2 separate regions of the Homo sapiens genome follow, and region 2 is linked to region 1. The links are contacts of gene promoters, found by promoter capture Hi-C in blood cells and fetal thymus (Javierre and others, 2016). All regions are on one chromosome and are shown on one strand. The core of a region is centred on a gene start or on the middle of the fragment in contact, and the rest is flanking DNA. Distances in the headings are between cores, read along the strand shown.

Region 1 (2,980 bases), core at 481-2,980:
CACGCAAATACGGCAGCATTCTCAAAGGTGGGTTCTGGGATCCCAGCCATCATGGGTACTGCTTGAGATGATACGCAAAAAGGACATGAACGTTTTCCTCCCTAATGGGTCCTTTGGGGGCAATTTGCTAAAACATAACAGGTTGTTTTAGATGCTTCTTAAAATTGGTAATCATATCCCATTCTTTCTTTATCTCATAGAACTCGGGATGCCTACCCAACACAGCCTGATTATGCTATATGTGCTTAGTAAGTACATTCAATGAATGACTAAATGAAAGACAGGGAGGAAGAAGGAAACAGTCCAGAACTGAAAGGGATGAGAAGAGAAAAAATGTGGAGAAAGAGAAGGATGGGTAACAAAGGAGCCAGCAGTCACTGATCAGTAGAGTATAGGTGAGAGAGGGGAAAGGAGACAGCTGCAGATAATGGAAAATAACAAAACAAAACTGAGGTCTGGGAAGCTCCGATTTTAAAAAGTGAACATGAGTTATGAGACTAATTCAGATACTGGCCACACCAGGAGGCCCCCGCCCAGGAGATGAGGATGACCACCAACTGCTGAGAATCTTTGTAAACTCAAATCAAGGTGTATTTATTGCACAGGCACAATAAATGAACAAGGCATCTTAAGTACTACAATGACAGGTGAGTGGGTCAGGCACAGTGGCTCACGCCTGTAATCCCAGCACTTTGGGAGGCCGAGGCAGGCAGATCCCTTGAGCTCAGGAGTTCAAGAGAAGCCTGGGCAACATGGCAAAACCCCATCTCTACTAAAAATACAAAAAACTAGCTGGGTGTGGTGGCACAGGCCTGTAGTCTCAGCTACTTGGAAAGCTGAGGTGGGAGGATGGCTTGACCCCAACAGGTTGAGGCTGCAGTGAGCCAAGATTGCACCACTGCTCTCCAGCCTGGGCAACAGGGCAAGACCCTGTCTCAAAACAACAACAACAACAAAATCACAGATGAGTAAGACACAGGTCTTTCCCTAAACAAGGTTACAGTCTAATGGGCAGAAGGGCTAGGACAGGGACTCAGATGAAATAATGCCAGGTAGAATGTGATCAGTGCCCCTGGAGGTGTGGCAAGCCAACACTGTGAGGAATCAGCGGCAGGAAGATCATATCAAATCACGAGGCTCCAGAAAAACTACGAGGGTCCAGGAATGGTGGCTCACGCTTGTAATCTCAACGCTTTGGGAGGCAGAGGTGGGCTGATTGCTTGAGCCCAGGAGTTCAAGACCAGCCTGGACAACATGATGAAACCCTGTGTGTACAGAAAATACAAAAATTAGCTGGGCATAGTGAGCTGTGCCTGTAGTCCCAGTTACTCAGGAGGCTGAGGTGAGAGGATCGTTGAGCTAGGGAGGCTGACGGAGGTCGAGGCAGCAGTGAGCTGTGATCATGCCACTGCATTCTCCTGGGCTAAAGGGCAAGCCCCTGCCTCAATTAAATAAAACAACAACAACAACAAAATAAAAAACTACCAGGAAGGGCCATGAGGCACAGAAGGATTGCATCAGGCGGAGATAGGAGATGAGAAGAGAGACATTTCAAGGTGATATATAAAGAACTACCAGGGGGTGAGGAAGCATATGGGGAGATGTGTGGAGACACAGCCTGAAAGTCTTGAAGTCACATCACGGAGCCTTGAATGACCGACCGAGGCGCTGACACTCAAGAGAGGCAATGGGAAGCCAGTGAAGGTTTGTGTGTGTGTGTGTGCGTGTGTGTGCAGAGAAATAGTAGCATTAGAGATGATTCCCAGGCAGGGTGACTGGGCAGCCAAGGGAAAGCGCTGGCCTGTGCGGGATGAGGCAGTTGGGTTCTGGAGAGCACAAGCAATCATTCGGTGCTGCCCATCAGACAACTGAAAAATCTGATCAGAGGCAGTGGCTAAGTCCCCGCCTGGGAACACAAAGGAAGCCTAAGGTTCTGGTTATCACCCTCAGGGGACCGTGACCTTGAAAGAGTAAGGATAGTACCAGCCAAAACCAATGCAGCCAAGAGGAAAAGTCACAGAGAACAGCGAGGGGAGGTGGAAGTTTCAATACAGAAATTGTAGCCATGGCTGAGAACCCCAGCACTGGAGGCCGGAATTTGTGCGTTTGAACGCCAGAGGCTTGGCTAGTCATGATTAGCAAAGGAACTTCAAAGAGTTTTGGAGCCTGCTTTATATCTGTGAAATGGGAATTATTTCCATCTCAAAGGTTTGAGGGGATTCGCTGAGAGAAACTTCTTAGCATGGGATCTCCAGAAACTGGAAGCCACAGAGAAAGCAGCGGCCAGAGGGAGGAGGAATCGGACAGGCTGATCACTTGGAGTGTTCGCCTAAGCAGTTTCTAGAAATGGAGGCAGGGACCATCAGGAAGCTCAAAACCTTTGCTTCAGCCGAGTTTGCAGAACGCCCTGTGAGGAGAATGGGTGAGCTGGGTCGAGGAAGCTTCATCCTCGTCCCCATCCCCCAGCACTGCCCTTTTCCCAACGCTCCCATCCCGCCACGCCTCCCAACATACCCCCACCCCGACTTCCCGCTCAACTCCCGCTCCAGCCAGTCCCAGGAGCCACATGCGCATGCGCCCTCCCGCGCCCCTCCCCAACTTTCCACGTTTCACTCCTCTCCCTTTTCCTCCTCAGCTCCGGCTCCGCCGCCACGATTGGCCAGCCGACCACCCGGCCTCGGCCAATAAGCGCCGCCCTCTCGCCCCCGTGTTACTGGGTAGAAGAAAACAAAAACAAACAGAGCGAGAAGGGCCAGAGACTCTCCGAGGCGGCGGCAGAGACAGAAGAGCGGGGTCGGGGCCGGCTGACCAGGAACCTGGGCGAGCAGCGGCGGGGGCCCGAGGGGTCAGTACCAGTAGGCGCGGCTCACACGCTCGGGAAGACTGCGCCCTCTCCCCCATCCCTCCTCGGAGGCAGCCGCAAGATGGGAGGGGGCGGGGGCGGAGGCGTGGGGGTCGCGGTCCTGTCAGGTCCGGGCCT
Region 2 (3,271 bases), core at 7-2,506, 6.5 Mb before region 1:
CTCTCTACGGATTGCACAAAACAACCCTACTATGACATCATTTTCTAGTCACAGGGACGGAGCAATAAGGTGTGATGCGGGTGCTCCACCGAGGCTGTGCTGGCACCCAGTAGGTGTCCAAATAATGCCTGCTGAATGCATGGACCCATGACTCATATGTGCGTCAGTCAGACTGAGGTGGGCAGCAAGCAGCCACTGATAGTGTCAAGTTCACACAGGCTCATTTCCACTCCTACTGTCACCGAGAAAGAAACAGCCCAAAGCTCATCAGCTAAGAAGAGCTTAACAGTTTGCAGAGGCTTAGAGAACCATTGCTAAGGAGTCAAACTCTGGAATCAGAAGGCCTGGGTTTGAATCTTGGCTCTACAACTTGCTATGGCAATAGTGTCCAATTTATGGCCTTGTGGACCATCTCACAGTCACTCGGCAGTGCTTGGTAAATGATACTGCTGTTGGCACTGGTACTGGTGCTGCGGTCATGTCTCCTTTTTGATTTGTTAAATCGTCATGGTTGCATGTTAAGGAGTCCTCTGGGAAGAAGTGGGTGAACAACATCCCTGCAGCTCCTCCAGAAGCCTGGGGAGTATGACTAAGTTGTCTCCTCCACCTCCTTGTCTTCTTCTAAAGGCCCCAGGGGCTGACACAGAGGAAGAGGAGGAAGTTTGGAGACCTAGGAAGGTCAGCAGCACCCTCCCTTACTCCCTCCAATCTGGCATCATTGACACTGACAGCTCTTCCATTAGGTTCTGAGTACCCAGCTTTGGAAGAGGGTAGTTGCTATAATGAATGCTTGCTGAATACATGAATGGAGTTAGGATTGGGAAAAGAACCTCACTGCCTTTACTCCCAGGAGCAGGAATTTGAAATTCCTGGAGTGAAGTGGAAAGCTCTGGATAAAGTAACTTCTACATTCTTTCTTCCTGGGAGGGGCACTGCAGTCAGAAAAACAAAGTGCTAACAGTGTAAGTGCCTTGGAAAATCCCTTCCAGCAAAATCCCTTCCAGACGTAGCCCTGGAGACAGAGACGGTTGCAGCCCCGTTTGGTCTGGACTGGCCTTCATGTAACTGCAGGCAGACTCACTGCCAACGTTTAGAAAATGGCCCAGGAATGAACCCTGACACGTTTTCTGACCCTCAGCTGCCTTGCCGTGGACACCTCCCTTCTTGCTCAAGCTTCTTGTAGAAATAAACAGAGGATTACAGAGTAAGAGAAGGAGCAGAGAAGTAATTCTTCTTTCAGGAAAAAACTGGACAAGCCTCAGGGCCCTGACACACCATGGGAGGGTTTAATGAATTACAACCACTGCATCCCATTTATTGAGGCTTAAGCATTGCACAATAAAGCTTTACATGTATCATTCTCACATCAAACCTCTGAGGCAGGCACTTATCTCCATTTTACAGATAAGGCAACTGAGGCACAGAGGTGAGGCCACTCACCAACATCATAGAGCCAGGATCTGAATCCAAACCTATCTGACTTTCAAGCCTATACTCTTCCCATGAAGCCACGAGCTGTGCTGCTCAGTGACCTGGTATCTGTGAAACATTAGACATGTACCTATGGACTTTCCTCACCCGGACTGTTTAGGGAAGGGTAGGTGACAATCTAGATGAAATGTGGGCATGAAGCAGGGAGTAAAACCTAATGAACTTATGAGACTCCTTCTACCAAGATTCTGTGAGTGTGGCCTGGGCTATTTGAGATAAAAGGAATGGAAAGCCTTCTCTGCAAAAAAGGGAGTGAGGGCTCTCTTGACACTGGCAGGTAGGCATGTGTTGGGGTGAAATGTCAGGAAGCGGCATGGGTACATTAGGGACATTTTGGGGCAGCACACAGGGGTAGGACCCAGGCAGCCCCTGCTCTCCTACCCTCCAGCCCAGGCATGCTGCACCCCTGCCTCCTTGGGAACTTTGGAACAAAGTCTCAGCAAACAAAGGACGCGTTCGTAAACTTCAGGCGGGTCCCCCGGCTGCTGCTAAGAGGCTATTGAAGCCGGCTCCCATGAGAACAGTATGTTATGAGCACATGGTTTTGCACTAGCGGGCAGGGCCAAAATAATGACAACACCTTCCCTGCTGCTTTGATACAGGAGGAGGGGGCGAGAGTTGGGGGGACTCCTGCATCAGCTTCAGGGAAATGACCTAGAAGGGAGAGAAAGCAGTAGCAGCCCAGGGTTGCTTCCAAGCTGAGCCCCTCTTCCCAGGCAGTGAGTGTCCCACTGTGTTATGCACCTGGAAGTGAGTCATTTGATAATTGCGGGGCTTTGTATTTTTCCTAGGGACTTCCAGCAGAGGACTGCAAAGTGCTCTGAATATTATCAGGAACTGGTTGTTACTGTGCCTATTAAACAGAAAAGCAAACAGTGCTGGAAGGGAAAGCCTTTCCTTCCTTTCACCCTCAGATAGCTCAGGCCACACTCACAGAATCTCTTGGCAGAAGGAGTCTCCAAAGCTCACTAGGTCTGCTAATATCAGAGTGAGACAGCAGGAAGGGACCAGAAGTCTCAGGCCTGGAGTTGGTGGTCTGCTTGCTGTTTTCTCAGTATTGACACTTAAAACTTTGTGGGATTCTTTATGCCATCTGTATGTGTTCTGGGCTACAGTGTCCAGACAGACGCCTGAGGTGGCAGAAAGAGTCCAAGGCCCTGGGAGAGAGCAAATCTAAATTCGAATCTCTTCTCTGTTGTTGTCCGTTTGGGGCAAGTCCCTCTGAGTCTGTTCTTTCACCTGTAAAACTAGGATAACACCCACCTTGAAGGGCCATTGTGAGGAGGAGAAATAAATATGTGTAAACCCCTAGAATGGGGCTTTGCTCAGTAAATGAAGCCACTATTTTTTTTTAATAAGGCCATTCTACTTATATGAACAATGTCATATCCATAACGGTGGATTCTGCAGATTAATGATACTCTAATTTTTATTTATAAACCTGAAAAAGCTAGGTGCATACAAGAATTAGGGCAATGACTTTAGCCACCGAAATGCTGGACATCAGAAAAGCACCTGAAGTTATGCCTAGTTGCACAAAACAAAAACTTTAATCAGGTGCCTTCAAGTGGAAGGACAAGGCGATTCCTGAAACCTCTACAGAGACACCTACTATATCATCTAGTTTTTCATCTTTCTTCAGGGCAGGGAGTCCTCCCTTTCCTGCCTCTTTCGTCTCCTGTGCTGACATTTGGCAGCCCTTGCTTAGGAGAAGCAGCAGGCATCACCTGATAAGATGTGGCGGAAACACAGGTCACCAAGTTAAGAGCATCAGAACTGC

Evidence for each region. The method cuts DNA at HindIII sites, captures the fragments that hold promoters and counts their contacts. A CHiCAGO score of 5 or more calls a contact.
Region 2: a contact is called between a fragment that was not itself captured here and the fragment with the promoter of PDCD4-AS1 in region 1, in 1 of 17 cell types (naive CD8 T cells). The highest score is 5.0, in naive CD8 T cells.

What each region holds. Positions count from the first base shown.
Region 1 is chr10:110,869,174-110,872,153 of GRCh38, forward strand. PDCD4-AS1 (PDCD4 antisense RNA 1) reads right to left here and starts at 1,731. Exons shown (of 1, transcript NR_026932.1): 1 at 1-1,731. It overlaps PDCD4 (programmed cell death 4), which reads left to right and starts at 2,755. Exons shown (of 12, transcript NM_014456.5): 1 at 2,755-2,845. RefSeq lists an enhancer at 1,253-1,863 and silencers at 2,868-2,917, 2,948-2,980. The HindIII fragment of the contact is 8,654 bases long and covers 1-2,439 here.
Region 2 is chr10:104,329,388-104,332,658 of GRCh38, forward strand. All of the region lies in intron 1 of ITPRIP (inositol 1,4,5-trisphosphate receptor interacting protein), which reads right to left. Among named protein-coding and RNA genes, the nearest start is that of ITPRIP, 7.4 kb to the right of the region's middle. RefSeq lists silencers at 1-39, 2,064-2,358 and enhancers at 812-1,457, 1,458-2,103. The HindIII fragment of the contact is 171 bases long and covers 1,172-1,342 here.